Linked DNA regions of Homo sapiens: regions 2, 3 and 4 are each linked to region 1. The links are contacts of gene promoters, found by promoter capture Hi-C in blood cells and fetal thymus (Javierre and others, 2016). All regions are on one chromosome and are shown on one strand. The core of a region is centred on a gene start or on the middle of the fragment in contact, and the rest is flanking DNA. Distances in the headings are between cores, read along the strand shown.

What was found. Contacts are between HindIII fragments. The CHiCAGO score rates a contact against its expected background, and 5 or more counts as called.
Region 2: a contact is called between a fragment that was not itself captured here and the fragment with the promoter of ADO in region 1, in 2 of 17 cell types (neutrophils and fetal thymus). The highest score is 6.0, in neutrophils.
Region 3: a fragment that was not itself captured here is called in contact with the fragment with the promoter of ADO in region 1 in 1 of 17 cell types (erythroblasts); the score reaches 5.1 in erythroblasts.
Region 4: a fragment that was not itself captured here is called in contact with the fragment with the promoter of ADO in region 1 in 1 of 17 cell types (M1 macrophages); the score reaches 5.1 in M1 macrophages.

Annotation. Positions count from the first base shown.
Region 1 is chr10:62,801,530-62,807,302 of GRCh38, reverse strand. It overlaps ADO (2-aminoethanethiol dioxygenase), which reads right to left and starts at 2,583. Exons shown (of 1, transcript NM_032804.6): 1 at 1-2,583. The coding sequence starts at 2,243. The coding sequence ends at 1,431. RefSeq lists enhancers at 1,979-2,098, 2,569-2,828 and a silencer at 2,279-2,528. The HindIII fragment of the contact is 5,397 bases long and covers 1-4,194 here.
Region 2 is chr10:62,036,478-62,042,156 of GRCh38, reverse strand. All of the region lies in intron 4 of ARID5B (AT-rich interaction domain 5B), which reads right to left. Among named protein-coding and RNA genes, the nearest start is that of ARID5B, 140 kb to the right of the region's middle. RefSeq lists an enhancer at 919-978. The HindIII fragment of the contact is 762 bases long and covers 1,974-2,735 here.
Region 3 is chr10:63,711,875-63,717,796 of GRCh38, reverse strand. No RefSeq gene overlaps it. Among named protein-coding and RNA genes, the nearest start is that of REEP3, 190 kb to the right of the region's middle. RefSeq lists an enhancer at 3,843-4,521. The HindIII fragment of the contact is 615 bases long and covers 1,185-1,799 here.
Region 4 is chr10:62,262,287-62,268,266 of GRCh38, reverse strand. It overlaps RTKN2 (rhotekin 2), which reads left to right. Exons shown (of 12, transcript NM_145307.4): 2 at 5,446-5,642. The region is part of intron 1 of LINC02621 (long intergenic non-protein coding RNA 2621); the gene reads right to left. Among named protein-coding and RNA genes, the nearest start is that of RTKN2, 3.6 kb to the left of the region's middle. RefSeq lists an enhancer at 3,142-3,643. The HindIII fragment of the contact is 2,510 bases long and covers 3,207-5,716 here.

The sequences.
Region 1 (5,773 bases), core at 1,334-3,833:
TTATTAAAAGTCTTGTGAAAAAACGGAATCCTATAAATAGTAAAAAGGGAGAAACAGTGCTCCATGGCCTGAAGCAAATGGTGTCAATACATGTGTAAACAAGGTAAGACTGCTCGGACTATTAAAAGCACAAAAATAAAACTAGTCACAGATAGCAAGACTTCATTTCAGGAGTTGGGAGTGGGAAGTAGGAAGTGTTTAATCCCAAGTTTTGGTGCCCTAAAATGGCTAGTAGTATAGTTAATTCTCAATTCTCTAGCTGTGATCTTCTGTGCCTTCTATCTCTTCCTAAGGAAAACCACATTAGATGAACCCAGGGCTCAGTCATTTTAGGGAGAGGGTTGAGACAACACTGCCAGCAACACAGCTGGAATCACCCGAGTCGGGAACATTAAAGTTCCTGAGAGAATATGAAACAACTATCAACATAATATTTCTCCCTACTTTTACAGTAAAATATTGGAAGTAAATAAATATAGGGAATGCAACAACTGGCTAGGAGTGTTTTACATTCAGTTGTTTGGAAGCATAACACATTCAGCTCCTTTGAATCTTCCCGTTAGAAAATACAGAATTACTCTATCACCTTTTAAGGTACAGTAAGACAAGAAAAAAAGTCATGTGAGGATAATACAGTCTTTGCATTAAAGGTGAATCTGCAACATGAAATCTGCTCGACTCACAGATCTGGAGATTCATAGGGAAGATAAGCTCTAAGTGACCATGTCACAGAGATATGCAGGTGCTGAATTTCTTAGTAGATGCTGCCTGAGTAAACCAGATGTGGCTACTGGGCAAAGGGAGGAAAGAAAATAAATCTTGTCCTCTACATGCATAGTTATGTTGTGAGAATGATCCCCAAACTGAAAAAATCATTTAGTTTTCACAAGGAATTAATTAGGCAGGCCAGCTCACTTTAAACAGTAGCTCATCTCCTTAAACCTAGTTTTTACCAATGACTTGAACTAAAAACAATTCAAACCACTGGGTCATGCACAGTCAATAAGTTAAAAAACTATAAGAAAAAAAGGCATAAGGGCATGAGTGGAAAATAAACCCTATTTAACTAAGGGGTAGGGAGTGGGAGCAAGAAAACCACTTAGTATTTTGTATAGAATGGGGAAGAGAGGAAGATATTTTCATTATGGCTTTAGGATGGAAGCGCTTCAGATAGTCCCCTGCCCCATTCCTCCAAATCAAAGCCCCAGTGGCAGTGACAGTACCAGGAAACAATCTAGCCTCCCCGCCCACCCCGCCCCCATAACCGTGCCCGGCGGCTGCTGTCCAGTCGCCCGTGCTTCCCAAGGCTGCCGAGGAAGCGGCTGCTGCTCATTCCAGTAGATCCAACGCCCAGGCTAGGGGGTAGAGACACAGCCCTTGTGGTAGGGTAGGGCACGTCTTCGGCCCACCGCTCCTGGGCGCCAGTGGCTTCAAGGGAAGACCTTGGGACCTGGATAGGGTTCTCCCTCGCACCAGAAGTCATCGGCCTGTGGGGTCTCCAGGAGCCACACCTCTCGAGGCAGGTCACAGGCCGAGCTGGAGGCCTCCTTGGGCCTGACCGGCTCCAGCACCCGGTAATAGTGGCAGTCCCGGCCATCGTCCGGGTCGTAGGGCGGGGCCAGGATGTCCAGGAAGGCGGCAGGCCCTTCCACGGCGTCGATCTGGTGCAGGTTGTCCCGGTGCGGTGTGAGGATGCAGGGGCCGCTGGCCTCGGTGTACTCGGCCCGCGAACGCAGCACGCCCGGCCGCACGGCTTCTCGCTCCCGGGGCTGCAGCGGCGGCTCGAACTGCTGCTCGGGCGGCAAGGCCCGCGGCCGTTGCCCGCCGCCCGCGTCTAGCTTGTCCATGCAGCTGATGCGCACGGTGCCGTACAGCACCTTGAGCATGCCGTGCATGCCCGGGTGGTCGTGCAGCGGGATGGACGTGCCGCTCTTGAGCAGGAACACGCCCAGGCTGAAGCCGTCCGTCTCGTAGATGTGCATGTAGGTGACTGGCGGCAGGTTGGGCGGCAGCGGCTGCAGTGTGGCCTTGCGCGGGGCGATGTTCAAGTCCTCGGCGCGGAGCTGGGTCAGGAGGCTCTTCAGCTTGCTCAGGTTCTCGGGGAAGCCCGGCTGCATCGGCGCCTCCGGGCCAGAAGCCGCGTCGCGATCGGAAGCGCCGCGGCCGCCCCCGCTGCCCCGGAAGGTGAGGCAAGCCTGGCGGGCGATCCGTTGGATCAAGGAGGCCATGTTGTCTCGGGGCATGGTCGGCTGCTCCTCTGCGTGCCGGGACCGGCCCCCTCCTTTCCTCCGCCCCTTGCGGTCCCCGGCGGCCGCCACGGCTGCCCCCAGCCCGGGTCGAGGCGGGAGGCCCCGCAACCACCGGCCCGTCGGGCGCGCGGCACCGCCGCCAACCTCAGCAGCCACGCGCCCGCAACTGCCCGGCGCGCTCGCCTTGAGCCCCCTCTGAGCGCGCACGCGCACGCCCCACACCCCGCACTCACGCTCCGGGAGCAGATAGCGGCCGCGCAGACGGTGCCAGGCTTTGCCTTACGCCCGGCGCTCCATTCATGCGGCCCGCACCTACGACGGTGGCCGGGCGCCCGGGGACCCTGCGGAGCATGCCGGGACTTGTAGTCCGGCCTTCCGCTTGAGCTCTGAGATAGTTCAGTTTGTTGATTGGAAAATAGAGGAACTATTACACATGTTGGGCATAAAGCGATCTTTTTCAGGATGCAGAGGTGTTTTTCTTGTTTTAGAAAAGATGAATCGGGGTGGAAGATTAGTAGCCACTTGACTACAACTCCCGGCACTCCCCGCAGGGTGGAGTGACGCACTTCCGTCAGCTGGCCCCCGGAGTAGTGGAGGCTCTTGGCCTTCATAAGGAAAGGGGCAGGGAGGGTCGTTAACCTTCTGGCGCCGCGCTGGGGCCTGGTTAGCCATGCAGGGTCGCCTTCCTTTGGCCTTGCCCCTGGGAAGGAGGCTGTTGAGTCAGCCTTAGCTCCTCGTAGCGGCCTAGGCAGCACTGTCTCCCACGGGAATTGCAGGAGGGCGCTTTTATAATTTTGTGTTTCCTAGGAGGGGAGGGGGTCCAGGCCGTCCTCTGTGATCATCAAGGTTACTCGGCCCAGCTGGGCCCAGCTGGGCCCAGCTGTTGTTTGCATCAGGACCTGATGACGCTGCTCTTCTGGTTACAGAGCAGTATAGCTTTTTGCTGGAGAGACTTGAGAGGCCATTTACAGTGGTCGTGGATTCTGAACATACTAGTGGTTATCAAATCTTGGTTTGCCTGAGAAGGGGGAGCGGGCTTTTATAAATGCAGATTCCCTGTCGTCACCCAGAGATGGAGTTACTAGATGGTTCTGAGGCATCCTAGGAGAAATAGTGGTGTGCAACAGTCAGTTCAGTCAGTAATTGTGAAATTGTTTCACTACACAGAGGCATCCTTCTCCTTGGCGTGAACTAACTTTTGGCATAAGTAAATGACTAGAAAAGCAAGACATTAGATACTATGACTTTAAACTTAACCCTGAGTTTAAAGTCTTTTTGGATTCCAAAGCTGAACATGGGTTTCTTGTACATTTTGTAATTGGAGTGGTTCAGTGAATCCTCTCCAGTTAAAATAGGCATACTTTTTAAAGTGGATTACATAACCTGGCTAATGAGTACTCACAATATGCCAGGCACTGTGTTAAGTGCATTATATAATGAATGTTATACTATTTAATCCTTGCAGCAACTCTTAAGAGGCAGGCACTATTATTATTCCCAGATTGCAGATGAGGGAATAAGTTGTAGGATAGTGAATACTAAGTACCCAGCAAAGCATGAGCAGCAGAGCAGAAATAAGTACAGTCTTACCAAAAACAGCAGCTTGAATTGGTGTAAAAGCACCAAACGAGAGTCAGGATATTGTTGTTCCAGCCTACTGTGTGTACTTACAAGCTGTGTGTCGTTAGGCAAATCCTACCCTTTTAGGGCCTCAATTTATTCATTTGTAGAATGCCGGTGTTAAGGGAACAAAAGTTCTGAACCCTACTCATCAGAACCCCCTGGAGAGCTTAAAAAATAAAGATCTTGGGGTCACACCTCAGAGATTTTGATTCAGAAGAACTGGAGTGAAGCCTATTTTTTTGTGTGTGGTTTTTTTTTGTTTGTTTGTTTGTTTGTTTTGAGGGGTAACAAGGTTTATCGTGAAGAGCGAAATAACAAAGCTTCCACAGCTTGGAAGGGGACCACAGCGGGTTGCCCCTATGATTTATATTTAAGATGCTTCCTCAAGCAATTATTATTATTATTTTTTTTTTTGAGACGGAGTCTGGGTCTGTTGCCCAGGCGGGAGTGCACTGGTGCGATCTCGGCTCACTGCAAGCTCCGCCTCCCGGGTTCACGCCATTCTCCTGCCTCAGCCTCCGGAGTAGCTGGGACTACAGATGCCCGCCATCACACCCGCCTAATTTTTTTTTCTGTATATTTAGTAGAGACGGGGTTTCACCATGTTAGCCAGAATGGTCTCGATCTCCTGAGCTCGTGATCCGCCCCCCTCGGCCTCCCAAAGTGCTGGGATTACAGGCGTGAGCCACGGCGCTCGTCCAAGCGATTCTTGATCATTAGCTCAGTTTGAGAACCACTGGTAGAGCTGTAAATAGTGAACCAGCTTTCATTAGTTAAGAGGGTGGTTATTTGCTTTAGGAAAGGATTGTTAAGACTGATTCATTTTTAGAGGTTGCCATGCCATTGTTACGTTATTTAAATGTACTTTCAAAGCTGATAAATAAATTTCATACAGTCTTTTTTCTAAAGTGAGAAGTATTTGAGAGTAAAATTCTTCCCCTTCCTTTATTTACAAATATGGACTTTTATTTATTGGTTTTACTTCTATTAGGGTATAATTAGTGGTAAGTATAGACTCCATGGAACACAGACTATATTAACATGCAGATCTCTTGCACTTAATGGTTGTCCACACTTACTTAACTGAAGCTCAAAATTTTCATCTATAAAATGGGATAATATACCTGTGTAAATCACTGATGACACTATGTAGAACATAGTAGCTGCCCCATGACAGTAGCTATTATAGGTTTAAAATGGCTATAAGTTGTACTTAAAGACCAATGAATTTAAATAATACTAAGCAAGTATTGAAATGGAATTTGACTTGTTTTGAGAATCAGCTTCAGGGTAGAGATAAAAAAGATTATTGCTTAAACCATTTACCTGGTAATTTGCTAGTCATCCTTTGGCCTGAGTTCAAAGTTTCCGAAGACTGCCTGTATCAGAATCACTTGGGAGTGTCTGTCAAAAGTGCAGATTCCCAGATCACGTCAAAACCTACTGCATCTGAATCTTTTGCACATTAAAAATTTTAAGAACCAGGCAGGCATGGTATGGTGGCTCATGCCTGTAATCCCAACACTTTGGGAGGCCAAGACAGGAAGATCGCTTGAGGACAGGTGTTCAAGGCCAGCCTAGGCAACATAGCAAGACCCCCATCTTTACAAAAAAAAAAATTAAAAAATTAGTTGAGCATGGTGATACACGCCTGTAGTGTATTCTGGAGGCTGAGGCAGGAGGATTGATTGAGCTGATGAGTTCAAGGCTGCAGTTAGCTATGATTGCACCCCTTCACCCAGGCCTAGGCAACAGAGTGAGACTGTCTCTCAAAAAAAAGTTTGTAAGAACTGCTGAGTGTCTACAGGGCATGTGGTACTTTTTTAGGTCACAAAGAGTCTACCTCCATAATTCCTTTTGATGTTGCCCTTCATTCAGAGCTGCACTAATGGGTGATATTG
Region 2 (5,679 bases), core at 1,105-3,604, 760 kb after region 1:
TTCTATATAATACAAATATAATATTAACAAGATAATTGTCTTTTTTTCTTAAGGCTGTTTAAGGATCTGCTCTGGAAATGTGTTTTAAGGACATTTTGATTTCCACAATTTCTGAAGGTTGTACAGATAGAACCTCTTAAACAAAGAGAGTTAATTTTTTGTCTCTCTCTTTTTTCTTTTTGTTACAATCAATAAATCTGCTCGTTCTAGTCTATGATTGATATGTTCTTTGGTGTTACTATTGAACATGACAGCACAGAAGTGAAAGCAACATTTTTGTACTGAATAGCCTTGTAAGAGCAGTAAATATCAGAACAGTTTTTAAACTCATTTATAAACAGGACATTCTTGTTCAGCCATTTCTCCAGGTTTGGAAATGAGATATTCCATTTCATCATTGAGGATAACTGATTTGCTACCTCTCTACAGAAAACATTCCCCACTTGGAAATAAGTAAAAGAGATGGATTGTTTTTGTTTTTGTTTTGGTGTGTATGTGGATTAACATGGAGATATTTAACTTATGACATACTTGGATGAGTATGTCATGGGATACATTTTAATATTTAAAAGACATACACATAAGAAACAGTTATCAAGTGATAGGCTCCCAATTCTTTTAAAAAGATCCAAAAAGGAATTTGTACAGAAAGGGGGCTTTTCACTCACTTTGTGCTTTTATACCTTTCAGAAAGAATAATGTGAATAGTAGGATAGTCTTTTACTTAAAAGTAAAAAGATGACTATTTTTGGTTGTCTGAGATTCGGAGACATTTTTCTTTGTTCAGGCAAATCCCTCTCACCCTTCCTCCCTATGAGGGCACCAGCACCATCCCCAACTAAGTACCTCAGTGGTCTCTGAGCTTCATTTGTTTGTGCAGGTACCGGAGCCAAGATACTGGAAAATGACTTTAAAAACTCTTCTGTGGTACCAAGAACCTCATGCAAACTCACAGATTGTATAGAAGAGCGTGTGTCTTGGAGCAGGGTGGGGTGAGGGTACAGAATGAGAAGAGCTTTGGGGCCTGGAGTGGGCGTGGAGAGGCAGCAACAAGGTTGATAATACCTGGTGACATGTTAACTAAGGGCAGATTATAAGCCGTGGGGCAAGCTAGAGTGATCACTCAATTGGAGGGAGGGTTTGTTACACTATAGAGAAACAGCACACAGATACCATCAGAAACCCTAATGTAAAGCTAACAATGAACCCAGAAGAGGTTACAGCTTCTTTACATTTTTCACTGTAAGATAAAACATTTCTATGACTATTTAGAATTGCTGTGTCTGATACAGTCACCGCTAGCCACGTGTCCCTTGAGTATCTGAAATACTATATGTCAAGTCCAAATTGAGATGTGCCGCAGTGTAAAATACACACTGGATCTCCAAGACTTAATACAAAATAAAAGTAAAATATCTCATTAATAACATTTTATATTGATTGCATATTGAAATGATAATATTTTGAATATACTGGGTTAAATAAAATATATTATTAAAATTAACTCCACATGTTTCTTTTTACCTTTTAAAATGTGGTTACTAGAATATTTTAAATTACATGTGGCTCACATTATCTTTCTCTTGGGCGATGCTGGTTTAGTCAATAATTCAATGTTATGATTATAGATATGTTCTTGGAAATATGTGTTAAGGAGCAGACAGAACAAGATTAACATCTGAAGCTAGAATAATCAGCAAAAGTCACGATTCAATGTTTCAATACATTTAAGATTTTATTCACTGTTATGGAGGGTAGTCATGTAAAAACGTTATATATAGTTATATATACACATTACACACATATATATATATATAATGTTATAATAGTATCTAAAAATTTTTCTTAAGCTGAGGTCTCCCTTCTGTAAAATTCAAATCTGGTAATCATTGACTCAAGGCTACTAAATGGCCCTGATGAAGATGTTATTTCATTAACTTTCTTAACTAAGATGTCAAAGTAAATGTTAAGCTTTGACAACAGACTGGAGAAGAGACAGAAAGAGAGAGAGAGTGAGAATGGAGAGAGAGAGGGGAAGGAACTAGCTAATTATTTATTTCATGACTTGTTCTCTCCTGCTGTCAATATGGGTCGGGTATAATGTAAGCCATTTTCATCATCCAGTACAAACTGAATAGGAGAAAATGGAGCTGGAGTGATTTTAGTTGCTTGGAAGTAGACACTTCTTAATCTCCAACTATTGAGTAAGTTAATGGTCTGACTTTTTGGACATTTCATCTGAGAATAAATAGAGAGGTCAGTTACAGTCAGGCCTAAATGCAGGGGCATAGCCTCATTGGCTTTGCCAACCTGCTTCAGGTCCCATTTATGACAAAATATGAGATTATTCATTGAAGACTGGCATTCCAATAAGCCCAGAAAAGTTGAACAGAACAAAAAGGTTTGAACTCTGGGGGCAGGGAGGAGAAACATTCTTTCCGCAATCATTCTTAGCACCAAAAAACCATCAGGCATCACTGAGAAGGCGGCTGCCCGGTGCTCAGTTTGCCCTGTGTCCCATCCTCCCAAACAACTTGTTATAGTAGCCAAAATCAAAGCTGATTCCCTCCACCTCCTCACTTTTTGATTCCTGTGGCAGCAGCAACACAGAAACCTAACTAGACATTAACAGCCCTCCAAACACTACATGCCAATCAAAAGGCTGCACACACATGGTAAAATGGGTTCCTATGGTAAAAATAAAAGAGCAACAATGGTGGCTATAGAAAGAAGCTTAGGAAATATTTTCTTTTCTTAGAAGGCAGTAGTTGCTGTAGCATTTAAGGCAGTAACATGCAGAAAGGCTTAGACCAAAATTTCTGCAACATCAATGAAACATGCAATCAATATCATACATTCTACTGTATCATACTTATATTGTACTAATTTTGATGAAATGATTGGGCGGTTTCAACCTATGTACCACGAAGCAATCTGCACACCTCTGGTATGTTTCTGATATCTAACTATAGAAGTATTTGTCTTTGTCCTCCAAACTCTTTTATAGCACATGGTATGCATATTTCAGCATCCAACATTATTAACTCATGAGCAACTGTCAGTTGATGGTTATCTAACACATGGGGTCTGCACAAAAGGGATCCTTATTTGGGCAAAAGCTCTTGTCTGCACCAGTCTGTCTATATTTTCCCTCAGAATAACTTTATTTGGATCATTATTCGCTGTTAGTGGAAACTCGGAGGCTGCATGTATGGCAATCGGAAGGTGGAGAAATAAATCCTTAACAAGTTCAAACACTTAGCTGATATTAAAACCATTTCTAGCTTTGTTAGCTGAAAGCAAACGCTCCATTGCCCTCTCGTGGTGAGTCGATGGGATGCGGTGGGACGACCAAAAAAACCCGCAGAAACTAACAAAAGAGTTTACTCCAATACAGGTGACAACATTCATCTTGGATAGAAACAGCCACAAATGACAACCTTATGTTGTTTTATATGTTTTAGAATTTACATTTTCAGCCCTCTTATGTGGAGATTGGACAAGGTGGGGTAGGTGGGGTTTGTAATATGGAAATTAGAACTTTGTCTTTCTGCAATACAATGACTTCACTATATTTACAACCATAGCTGCTATATATGTGGCAAATTGATTTTTATGAGATTTAGAAACTTAAAAAAATCATGCTCACATTTTAAAAGCTCCTTTAAACCAAAAATAGACTGATGTTCCAACTGGTTTGGAATTATAGGAACCAAGGAAAGAAGTCTGAATAATTCCCTAATATGGAAGAAAAACTGGCTTTTTTTCTTTTCTTTTTTTTTTTTTAAATAAGGAACAGTTTGTTTCTGACAATAGGCAACATGTGGGACTTATAGAACCAAGTATAGGTACAGAATTTATCTTTCTATATTGTCTAAAAATAAAATTTTAAAAAATTCTGAACTCCAAATTTAATAGTCAGTTACCCAATTGGGTATTTATCTTTTAAAAACACCATTTAAAATTTCTGCTGTATGCCTTTCAACAATTTCCTGCCTAACAGGCCCATCCCCAGAAAGCAAACAAACCTGGTATTAAAACAGACTGAAGAGCTTAAGAGAAAGCTGGGGGAGAAGTCAGGGCAAAGTACATGAGAACATAAACTACTTTTTTAAATCTTACTACCAGTAAATGTACCATTTTTCTCTTTTATGTGTCTTCTCTTCAGATAAAAGCCACTCCTCCAACCAGCATTACAGAAATGCTCTGTATTTTTATAATATGATTTTAGGGGCAGATTAATCTCAAATTGGCTTTTCCACTCAAATGTGGAAGTTCAGTTTTGCAACAACAGTTGTTTGATTTTGTCTTTGAATTAGCAAAGTTCTTAAAGTAATTTTACTATAAAATTAAACAGCTGGGAGTTCTTTAGCAAAACATGACAACTCTTGTTCTTCTTTGTACTATTGTGCAAGCTGAAATACCCTTTCTTTCATGTCTTTATATTCCAAAATGAATTCCCTAGTTACCCTTGTTTAGCTTTAAGAAAAATAATAAAGAAGGGGGGCGGTTTTTGCTGACCTCTGAAATTCACAGGCTTTTAAGCACAGGGCGTTTACACAAGGTGCGTTCTCAAAGGGCTTTTGTTTAATTCCTATTATGGAATGAAAAATGATATTTTGCCCCAATACAATGCCAATCTTTGTGTACGGCAAAGCTGTTGACAAGTATTTCTGTGGAGCAAGGCATCTTATGCCGATTTCGCAGATGGGAAAACTGAAACATCTCTAAATGGTGAGGAAATATGGGACTAAGATGTTCATAGAGGCTGGAATTAAATTTAGAATTTGACTCTTAGCCCAGGACTCTAACCATGTGAGGGCCCTAACTCTCTGGAATCAACAGAAGGGCAATTTTAAAACATTCTTTTGACGTTATTAACCACAGCCTCGGGGCTCAGGGAAATGAGTGGGGGAGGGCCTGGAAACATAATACAGAGCTGCTAGGTGACAGCCTCTTGCAACATTGCTAATACTTTGGATTACTTGATCCATATTGCCGTATATTCTACTAATATTCTGGGGCTTAATGATTTCCTTTGTATCTTAAAAAATTAGAGTCTAGATTCAAGGGCTAGTGTAGACTGCTTCTTAAAATATGGAGCCGGAGAGTCATGACAAGACAAATTGTGGAAAGCGGTTCTTGGCTTTTCACATGAATCTGGAACCAAAGATCACTGCTAAGAGTTGGTGAAACCATAGATGTTATGCCAGTAGGATTCGTCATTGGAGTCATTTATAAAATGATGGAATTCCATAGCTTTAGGAAAACCTCGGGCACCAGCTAGTCATTCTCCACATCAGAAAAGACAGGACCAGAGAGCCTGCCACTCGCCCAGAGTCACCCAGTGAGTAGCAGAGCTGCGACAGACTCTGGTTTCTGTTGCATGAGATCAGCAGCAGAGCCTTGGCAGCAGATGGTTTTTCAATGGGCCCTGAATACCTCCATTTGGGTCTCTGCAGGGTGAGCCCTGTCATCCCAAGACCATGTTACTGAAACACACTTTCCAAGGAACTGTAATTAATAAAGTCAAATGGGAGCTGACAAGGACATTCCCACTGTGTTCATATGCCAAAACATACAAGCAAGAAAGCTCACTTGGAGTGCATGAAGCGCAGGTCCTTCTGGCAGGACTTCTGTGCACCATACTCCCAGCTGTTTGCTCAGACCCAAATGTGA
Region 3 (5,922 bases), core at 243-2,742, 910 kb before region 1:
CATATGATTTAAAACAAAAGCTCTGGCCAGATATGGTGGCTCATGCCTGTAACCCCAGCACTTTGGGAGGCTGAGGCGGGCAGATTGCTTGAGCTCAGGAGTTTGAGATCAGCCTGAACAATATGGTGAAACTCCATTTCTACTACAAATAGGAAAGAAATTAGCTGGGCATGATGGCATGTGCCCGTAGTCCCAGCTACTTGGGGGCGGGGGGGGGGCGGCGCCGAGGCAGGAGGATAGCATGAACCCAGGATGCCAAGGCTGCAGTGAGCTGTGACTGCACAACTGCACGACTGCACTCCCGCCTGGGTGACAAAGTGAGACTCTGTCTGAATAAAAAGCTCTGTCCAAATGAGACTATGTTAATAAATAAACAAGGCAATCAAATTGTCTCTCTTGAGCATCTGAACCAGAAATAGATTGAAGAATATGGTATGATAGAGCCGTAAGAGAAGGAGATGCAAAGAAGTCATGGAATCAGGCCGTGAGTCAGCAGCAAAGGTTGCAAGTTGCCTTGAGTTAAATAAATTCATGATGTGAGATAGAAATCATCACCAGGGCTGTGCCTGCAAACTCACAAAATAATTGATGCTCTCCTACATTTTCTATCCTCCCTTGCAGTGAGGTTAGAGCCATATATCTAGCTCTGGCCGGTGAAAGGTAAGCAGAAGCATCAAATGTCGCTTCCAAGTCAAGGTCACTGAGAGCCAGGGACCTCCTCCAGCTCTCCTGTCTCTTGTGCAGTGACTTTGGAAACCAAGTGTTAATATGGCAGCATTAGACACAGATGGAGAGGCATGGGGTCTCTGGGTAGAGGGGAATCCCTGCTGACTACATCATTTTATGTGAGCAAGAAATCAATTTTTGTTGTATAAAGCCCCTGAGATTTCAGAGTTGATCTATTGCGGCAGCTAATGGTTAATTATCCTGACTGATACAATAACCAAAATGTTTTAGTACTTCCCATACTGTAATTATTCTAGTGATCATAATTGCACAGTTGCAACTTGTTGAGAAACATAAGTCTGAAACAGTTGTTTACAGCTGGTGTTTGTCTAGACCATGGCAGTGTCCATTCTGATTGTGCCTATGCCATCTGACTTGGTAAAGATTTCTTCACACTTTGCCTTGCTCATAGGAAAACTATATACATGCGCCCTTCAACGTATTCTAAAGTGAAAGCTTAAAAGCATAAAATGTGTTTTAAAATTATAAGTTAGTTTTAGAAAGGAAAGATTTCTTTCCCTCACCTATTGCTAGCTTCATGGCTGAGGTACCTACAAAAGACAGATTAACAAGAGAAAAGCACATGAATGTATTTAATATAAGTTTTATATGCCACAGGAGGCTTCAGAAAGAAAGACTCAAAGAAAAGGGAAACCTGTGTATTTTTATGCTAAGTTTGATGAGGAAGTGGATAGCCATGAAGTACGACGATTGGGCAAAGGGGGTATGACCTATTGAGAATAAACTGGGAGAACTTAGCAAGAACTGTTTGTTTAGATTCTTTGTGTTTCTGTGTCTTCAGAGGTAAGGATACTCCTTTCCTCGGGGTATAGGGTGGACACTTCTCACATGACAATACTATGATCTGCTTCAGAGGAAAGTCAGAGAATTCTTTTATGACCTGCTTCAAAGGAGAAGAAAGGGAGAAGGTCAGAGTCCTTCCTGCTTTTGTTTTCTCAAATGCCAAGATGCTCTATGTTGAGGCAGCATGTTCTAAACTCCATCATCAGAAACTATACATTAATCGATCAAATCTATGAGACTATATACATGAGGCAAAAAGATAAAAAGCTTAAATACAAGGGAAGAAAATGAGACAAACTCTAGAAAAAAGGATAAAGAAATGAAATATTTATGTCTTAAGTTGCTAAGATCATGAAAAAAATTGAAAACAGAATTGTTATCTATCCATGTAAAAGCAAAAGCTTTATATTTAAGTACTATTTCCATTATTTTACTCTGAAATTATGGCATTTCAATATGGGATTCACTTTATCTTGTTTCCTAAATTATCACCTGTGCCTATTACTTGCACATCACTTAAATAAATTAAAAACTGCAGTATATATCATACACATTCCCGAAATTAAAATTTGTATTTCTTATACAGTTAAAAAAACAAAAGTAATCTAGCTACTACTATGTATTTGTTGTTGTTGTTGTTGTTGTTTTTGAGACAGAGTCTCGCTCTATCGCCCAGGCTGGAGTGCAGTGGCCGGATCTCGGCTCACTGCAAGCTCTGCCTCTCGGGTTCAAGCCATTCTCCTGCCTCAGCCTCCCAAGTAGCTGGGACTACAAGCTCCTGCCACCACGCCCGGCCAATTTTTTGTATTTTTAGAAGAGACAGGGTTTCACCATGTTAGCCAGGATGGTCTCGATCTCCTGACCTTGTGATCTGCCCACCTCGGCCTCCCAAAGTGCTGGAATTACAGGTGTGAGCCACCACGCTCAGCTACCATGTATGTTTTAAAAGACTAAATTCAACTTTCATTTGATTCTCTCTCTCTCTGTTCCTCTTTCTGTCTTTCTGCAGATAAGGTTTAATACTTTAGTATAAAGAAAATAGAACTTCTGTCATGTTGCTTTTGTACTTTGCATACTTTTTTTGCAATTATTATAGTATTGTAGAAGATATACATTATATCCTTGTGAATTCAAATGGCAGAAATATTGACTAAAATGTATATTACTCATATCAATTTTCCATATTCAATTTTATACTAAAATGATACTTTCATTTAATATGTTAATCATAACATAAAAGGCTGCACTTACCACAGAATATAGAAATATGAAGTTTAAATATATATTATATTATAGCCTGCTTTTCCCACAAGGCTAATAGCATGAAATCAATTTTTAATATGGAGGTAGAAATTATAAATTATTTTTAATGAACAAAAGAACAGAATCATTAACTCCCCAGCCATGACTTGATTTGGAAGTTGATTAGGGATCAAGTTATCTTCCTGAAACCTACCCTCCAGTGTAAAATTTCTATATTGAAAAATATGATGAACAACCTATTAAGGTTCTGCTTTTTATGTCTCTAGTACTTTGCTGCAGCTTACAACACACTTTTAAACACATAGGTTTTCTCAACAGTTCTGAGACAGAGAAGACCTTATCTTCTTAAGGTCCACGAAGACCTGGCAAACTAATCTTCAAGATGAATTCAGCCCACAGATCTATTTATCTATTTTGTGAAGCACACAGAGTTTTTCTTAATTCATTGCCAATATTTAAAAGTTTAGCACTTTCACACTATAAAAAAGAACTGGGCCAGGCACGGTGGCTCATGCCTGTAATCCCAGCACTCTGGGAAGCTGAGGTGGGTGGATCACTTGAGGTCGGGATTTCGAGACCAGCCTGGCTAACATGGTGAAACCCCATCTCTACTAAAAATGCAAAAAAGTAGCCAGGCATGGTGGCGCATGCCTATAATACCAGTTACTTGGGAGACTGAGGCAGGAGAATAGCTTGAACCCAGGAGGCGGAGGTTGCAGTGAGCCGAGATCGCACCAGTGCACTCTAGCCTGGGAGAAAGAGTGAGACTCCATCTCAAAAAAAAAAAAAAAAAAAAAAAAACACCACACGAAGAACTGGCTGTCCCAGTGACCCACATTCCCAGTGGCAACAACTGACTTGAGTCAACTTGGGTAGAGGATGCCCCTTTTTGGGAAGACTCTTTCTCTTCAGTTTGCCACAATCCCCACCATTCTCTTATACTCCCTAAAACTGAGATACAAAGTCAGTTGCCACTTACCATGTTTTACTGGGCCTCCCTCCCTTATAACGTGACTGCTTGGCCCGTGAGGTGTATGGGAAAACAGGCCAGGTCCTTCCAGTCACCCCAGGAACAGTGAGGATGCATTACTCATAGATGAGGCTTAGGGTATTTGCTGGAAAAGCATGCATCTGAGTTTGGAGATAACTTGGAAGGTTAAATACGGAAAAGACTTTCAAAGATCATCTCATTCAAACTCTTCATTGTAGAAGAGGAAACTGAGGTCCCAGAGGCTGAGTGACTTGTATCACATCACACAGTGAATTTACAGAAAATCCCAGCTTAAAGCCCAAGTCTCTTAACTGCTGGCTCCTATCACTGTAATAACAGAAATGGGAAAAAGAAACAACTAGAGAGAAAGGAAGGAGAGTGGGGACACAATCTCCCTTCCCCCTCTCCCAGGCTGTGGCAGGCAGCCAACTGGAGCTTTCTGCATATTTAATTTAAATCTTTGTCTGCCCTGGCAAGGACAAAGTACAATCTGTTTTATGTAAAAAGTCTTCCCTGAGGAAAGCCTCGGCCTCCAGCTGCGAAACTGATTGATGTTCTTCAAGTCCCCAGGAAGCTCTGCTGGGATCCGAGGTTGCGGTTTCCAAAAAAAGAGTCTGTGAAAAGGAAGCACTGAAAACAACAACAACAAAATTTCCTTTATTGTGTTTCTCTCAACCTGGGAGAATTAGACTAAAACAAGGAGGGGGGTGTTGGGACATGCAAATACAGACTGTATTTTAAAAGCAGATTTCAGAGTCCCAGATGGGAGGGGTTTGGGATGGCAAGCTGCTGCCAGAGGGAGACTGGAGTCTTGTCTAGAAGCTTTATTTGCATAGCAAGCACTTTGCTTTTACTTAGATTGCCTGTTCCAATCAATAAAGCTACTAAAATGTTCTGAAGATGCTTTATCCACACTTGAGGAAAGACTGAAAGCATCAATATCCAATAGTGTCACTAGTGATGTTTTATTTGGAATGTTTGGGAAATGTTCTAATAGAGATTAAAATCCATCTTATTTTGTGGGTTTCCTGATACTGTATTTTGGAGAACCAGATCTGGGGTGGCATTTCTTGCAAAACCAAAGCCAGTTTTGAAATCCAGTCTCAGAGTCATCTCTGAATGTTTCTGGATTGTTACAGCCAGGGCATCTCCTGCCAGATTTCTGCTCCATCCCATATGACATCTACTTTAACCTGAGGCCTTATGCACAGATAGCAACACTGAAGTGCCCCCAGAAGACCCAAAGAGGGCAAGACCACTACAAAAGTTTTGAGGATGATGGAAGTTTCACCCCGGAGGACTGGTTTTTCCCACTGGTCCCTGGCCCTGCCTGGGGCAGCCCGTGTATCAGGCTGGAAGGAGGGCATGGGTGACAGTGCAAGGTTCTGCCTTCACCTTCTGGCTCAGCAGCCAAACTTCAGTGTGAAGCCAGAACAAAGCTATTGCCAGGTCAGGGCTAAGGAGCTCGAGCCTGTCTTGGGGTGGAGCCAGGACCCAGAAACCACTGCCATGAGCCACCAGCTGGCTCTGATCCCAGGAACATGTGCAGCTGCTGCACAGGCCAGACTAGTCCTGAAGACTGTCACTGTGCCAGCCCCTCCATTAGGCCTCCCGGTCTCTGCTCTCATCAGGCTCACACCCAATGCCCCGTGTGTACTTTGGCATCTGCCTGCCTTTAGATGTCCTGGGATGACTGAATAAACCTTCAGAAAAGCCATGTGACCTGCTGATTCTTATCTTTCTGGACATCACACCTTTGTTCTAAAACTCCTTAGAGGTCAAAGTGTATAGATCCAAATCTCTGAAGTTCCTTGGTATGATGAAAATGAAGGAATAAACAATTTCCCTTAACTCTGTGTGGTCTAATTTAAGGGCCTTTCATTAGTACTCACAGGAAAAACACAGGCACCATGGCAGCGGAAACAGAAATCCCTCCCCACATGCCCTGATGGTGGGGGCAAAACCCATGAATGGCCACATTCACAGCTGTTTCTAGAAGTGCTTCCTGGTATCGTGGGCATTAAGCTTCAGTAATAAAGTTAACAGCAATACAGTCATACTGGAAAAAGGTCAAAAGGAGGAAAACCTTTATTTAAAATATTATGCTGTTCTTTTTACAAACTAGGTCATCTTCTGTA
Region 4 (5,980 bases), core at 3,212-5,711, 540 kb after region 1:
TTGGACGCCTGTCTTTTTGCAGGTGTAGGTGATGCCGGGGAAATGGGAGCCCCTCGATTCCCAAGAAACCCAGCGAGGCCAGTGGACAGCTGGCTTATTACGGATTTAATGGGAAGCACAGTAATGGAGCGATGTCTACACACAACACAGAACTGGTTGGGGGGAGGGGGTTCGGAGCGGAGTAGAGGCAAACAGCAACCTCTGCACTTTAGAAAAAGTTGAAGGTTTGATACTGGGTTCTTTCTCAAATCATTTGAAAGGAAAGAGGGAGTACACGTGACATTGGATAGAAGTTTGATGTTTGCTTTTGAGCCATGTAAAATGCGTTAGAAACCTTTTTATTTTACTTTTTACTAAACCAACATTATTTCTTGGCAGCATCAGTTATTAAAATGTTACCACTTTTCACTCTTAACCATAACTTTAGGGTCTTAAAAGAAAACTCTGATGTCTTTAAGCTGGACCTTCACTTCTATTTTAATCTCTACCTTCTTTTACCTACTTCAGAAATAGGTTAAGCCATATGAAATTGCCAGTTTTGTAGGTCAAAATTGGTAGAATATTTGCAATTTCATTCATATGGAGGCACCTGATATCTTTGTTTAAAAATCTGGGATTTCCTTAGCAGACACAAAATTATTAGTTTTCAATAATACTGTGAAAAATAAAGCAAGACATTAAGATTCATTATGCAAAAGAAGTCCAGTGTCTTTATCAGTAATACTTATGCTGTTTTATGCCAGCATTTTCAAAAATTTCAAAGATTTTGATGTACTTTTTTTCAGTCCTGTCCTGTTATGTACTTTGGCTGTCCTGATTGCTAACAAAATCTTGATTTATAGTGAATTGCCATTCTATTGATGTTCTTGCACCTATCATATAGGTGTAGGTGTAGCTGTCCAGGTGTATTTATTGAGCTGCAGGCTGCAAGAATAGGAATGGTACAGAAGCGACAAGAGGATAAAATCATGAAGTTTAGTTGCATGGAATGAAAATAAATGTTTAAATATACATAAAGCCTGGGTTATTTACATGTGGGAAGATACAATACTTAATTTCTTAGGCAGGACAAAATCAAAATGATTGAAATGTGGAATTACTTCCTCAGTTTGGATTTGAAGAAAAAACACAAAATAGTAGTAGGTTGCAACCTAACAGGAATATTGAGAGTCAGATAATTTTATACTTGACTAACACTGAATTTTTATTTGGTATTTCCTTTGATACATGAATGAAGCTGCCACGTAATCGAGATAAGGCCAAAGATTTTGAGGTGGTCACACACTGGTCAAACACCTCTGCTGAAACCCTGGAGTCCTCTGCGACTCCTCACAGCATAGAGTATTGGCTTTGGAGTCAGATTCAGGTCAAACCAAACTCTTCTTGTTGTGCAACCTTGAATAAGTTATCTCTGTTTTCTAAGTTTCAGTTTCCACCGTTGTAGCTTGGGTATTCCGCCTATCCCAGACAGCTGTTGGAATTGGAGAACCTCTCTAAAGTACTTATCACAGCACCTAGCACTCAGGATGTGCTTCAGAGATGACTATTGTTGTTATTATCCTTTGTCCTATTCATCTGAGTGGTTAGGGCAGTCCCCTACTTTTCTTACAAATGTTTAAGCTTTTGGCATCTTAATAAAAATAAAATTCAAAAAGTAATACTATCTCATTGCAGAAAAGTCAACATATACAGAAACATGAATTTAAGAATTCGGTCTCCAGTTCCATTCCCCAGAATGGCCGCTGTTAACAATTTCCAGACTTTTTTCTGTACATAAACAATTCTTAAAATCCACACAGTTTCTTTTAGCAAAATGAGAACGTACTGTATTTACTCTTTTCTTCTTCACCTTGGTCTTTGTTAACATGGCTTAACTATATCCATTAGGTGAATCATAGTTTCTGTCTTGATTACTGCGGTTGTCTTACCGGGAGTTCAACTTCAGGTTTTTTTAGTCAGTTTTTAATACCAACAATAAAGCCATTTTCTTTGCACTTCCTTCATGCTAGGCTAGCTCTTAAAACCTAGTAGGTTTCTGTTTCCTACTTAACCTAAATTTCTGTTTTTAAGGTATGCTCCTATTTCATTCATAGCCTTGTCCATATATTTTTATCAGCCTGACTTTAACTACTTATAGCGTCAGGACAGTGACACAGGCTTCTGTTTGACTTGATTAGAGGCAAGCCCTTACTCAGAAAATTGGAAAAGAAATAAGAGTATGATGGCCTTACCTCATTCTCTGCTGTTCCTGGAGACTGGCATTCAAACAATCCTAAAAGGAATGGTTACAGAGAGACCAGCTTTTGTCTTTGGTCCTAATCAGCCTTGACTCTACCTGGCCAAGCCATTATGGCTGAGGGAGCGACACTGATGATTTTCCATTCCCTACTCATCTTCTTTGAGGTTAATAAACATCACTATTGAATGCCCAATCGGTACCCTTATTACATGATCATTATTCTTGCTGGGGATAGCACTAGACATGAACCCTTACCCCTGATGCATTGTATACCCTTAGTAACTAAAGACAACTCTAAAGAGTTTTGGTTCCATAAACCCTTCCTTGCTAGAGCTAGCACTGCTTAACCAGAGAGGCTTTTTCTGCATGTAAAATGTAGATGTGTACTAAAAGAAGTTGCATGGGAAATACAAAACTGGCTAAAACAGTAGCCTTAAGAAAAAAAAAAAAACCAACAGCTCAGAATACATTGAAAACCATATGTACACTTAACAATTCATCCTGCTTATGTTAGCCTTCTGGGATCCACTTAACTGACATTTGCCTGAGACCTGCCTCAGCGAGGGAGGTAAGATTATAGTTTACTGTGTATGTTAATTTGGCTGGATTATGGGTCAGTAAACTATTTCTATAAAGGGGCAAACAGTAAGTATTTTCAGCTTTGCAGGCCACTCAGTCTCTGTTGAAGTTGCTCAACTCTGCCCTTGTAGCTTAAAGGAGCCATAGACAATATGAATGAGTGTGTCTGTGCTCCAGTGTAACTTTATTTACAAAACCAGGTCCCAGCCAGGCCATAGTTTTCTGACCCTTGCTCTAAAGGAAAAAATCTTAATAGTAGTATCTGTTAGATACACCTCATTTCCTTAATAAATAGTACTTTAATCTTACATCATCTTCAAACTTTTTACACGTACATTTTTTTTTTAATCCTGACTTTACATTTTCTTTCTCTACTATTTCCCAAGCTTCTATAGTTTTATGGAGTCTTCATTATAAGTGATGGTGAGAAGATACTCTTCATTTATGTGATAGAAACACAAACTGATTCCTTAATGTGGCTGTAGCCACCTGCTGGTTCTTTAAGGTTGTTGCAAGTTTCAAGATTGCTGTGGAATTTCAAATAGTCCAGCTGTGCTTCTCTACCCTAGCTGACCATTGAATCACCAGAGGAACTGTAAAAAAAAAAAAAAATGCTCAAGCCCCACCTCCAGAGAGCCTGATTGGTTTGGGGTAGGTCACAGGTTTAGGTACTTCTATAAGGCCCTTCCTCTCTGCCTCAGATGATTCTAATATGCAGCCAGCTTTGAGAACCACTGTGCTAGTTCAACTGCCTGTTTCATTGTATCATTTAAAACTAAAGTTGAATTTAGTGGCACCAGATGGTATTTGTTTATATTTGAGTTGTGGGGTAAAGCTATTCATCCCAGCTTTAGGTTGCTCCCTATGTGCACTCCCCAATATAGTCAGTCTGCCAGAGTTTATTTCTATAGACATATGGGTCACATAGATAATTCTTATAATTAATTGCTAATTACATTGAAGAAGAATTTACTTTGGGGCTAGTAAGTCATAAAAAGATGAAATGGAGTTGTTGAAATTCAGTCATGTGTAATGAAGGAAAACCAGCAAATGACTACATTTATATAGTACACCAGTTTTGAGTTACAACACTATATGAGAAGGTTTTTATGTGGTGATTACATGATGTAATTACAGAAGGTAATTAAACAGCTGTTTTCTGTGTGTAAATAGTACAGTTGATTGATTTGGATAGTCAAGTTAAATCATCTACTGTAGTTTGTCTTTTGGGGTAGTCTTCAAAAACTATTAGCTCTCCTAACTTTCATCTTTTCTTTTTGAAAAGGTTGTATAGACCTTTTGGTATTAGATTTCATTTACATTTTTAAATTTACATTTTGATCCATTCAGAAGGTAAATTATAGTCTTTATTTTTTTGCCATAGAAACTAGGATGGTCACTTTATGTTTTAGAAATAGACATACCAGAAACATTACATGTTTGTGATATAATAAAGAGTACCTTTGATTTATAATTTTTATAAAGTCATTGTGAATTAAATCAGAACTGTACATTCAGTTTGTAGAATTTTAATGTTGCGTGTGAAACTTATATGTAGAATCAGGCCATTAAAAGATAATTATATGGAATAAAAGACTTTCAGCAATAAAATACTTAGTAGTTTCATGGTGAACCCTAAAACTAAAATAAATGGTATGTCCAGAATTGTATTCTAAAGCTCTGTTCCAGATAGCTAAGGCTTCTGACATTTTCAGTGTACAGCGCTTTCACTCTCTTGCTTCTGAGATTGTATTTACACTGCCTACTGTTACAAATAGCCTGTTTCCTCCCTGCTACTAAACCTTGGCTCCTTTACTCAGTATCTGCTTTTTTCAGAATGTTTTTCTTGGTTAATTCACTGTCATCAACCACACTGCCATCTCTTAATACAATGTATATAATATATATGTGTGATATATTGTTCACATTAGTTATTGTATGTTTTCTAAGGCTGCTATAACAAATGACCAAGACTGAGTGGCTGAAAACAAGAGAAATTTATTCTCAAACTTATGGAGGCCAGACGTCTGAAATCAAGGAATTGGCAGGGTCATGCTCCTCTGCAGGCCCTAGGAAAGAATTCCTTTCTTGCCTTTTCCAGCTTCTGATTGTTGCCATCAATCCTTGGTATTTTTTTGGCTTATAGACATATTAGTCTCTGTCTTCACATGTCATTCTCTCTGTATGTGACTGTGTCTTCATGGGACCTTTCTTTAAGGACACTAGTCATTAGATTTAGGACCCACTCTAATCCAGTATGTTCTCATTTTACCTAATTACATCTGCAAAACCCTGTATCCAAATAAGGCTACATTCTGAGGTTCTGGATGGACATAAATTTTGGAGGGATGCTATTAAACTTCGTATAGTTATAAGAACACATAATGTTTCTCACCTTTGTTTATGTTCGTTTATTCCGTTTCTTTAGATTGTAAAGACTTCCTAATGAAGCAAGAAGTTTAGAATTGCAAAGAGCATTTTAAAATAGCTATTTTTACACTACATATATTAAAACTTTGTTGCTTTCTCAATATGGTATACAATTATGATACCTATTTTCGATCTATTATGGGTTAAGATGTAATTTTGGGTTTTTGCTATATTTTCAAGATGCATTTTTTTTTTAGGACTGCAACATTCAAGAAAAAATAGACTTAGAAATTCGAATGCGAGAAGGAATATGGAAACTCCTTTCTCTGAGCACTCAGAAAGATCAAGTTTTACATGCAGTTAAGAATCTCATGGTGTGCAATGCTCGACTAATGGCCTATACATCGGAGCTACAGAAATTAGAAGAACAGATTGCAAATCAGACTGGAAGATGGTTAGTAACATAGTTTACCTGTGGCTTTTAATGTACTTAAATATGTAAATTTAAAACACAGTATAATTTAAGCTTAAGTACCAATGTCAAATCACCAAACTGTTTTAAAAAACAAATACACTGAAGTAGCAGCTGACATCATAAACAGTTTGCCGACACAGCTCAGAGTGAACTTAGGCAGCAGCTTTTATTGGGCTGTTGTGTTCAATATGTAATTATAAAATGAAAATTATCCAGAAGCAATGACTGAGGGAGCATTTTAAGAAGAAAGTACCAATATTGATAGAAATGTAGAGTAAGAAAATTAATTGCTTAGAAATATGCTAATATAAAGGTAC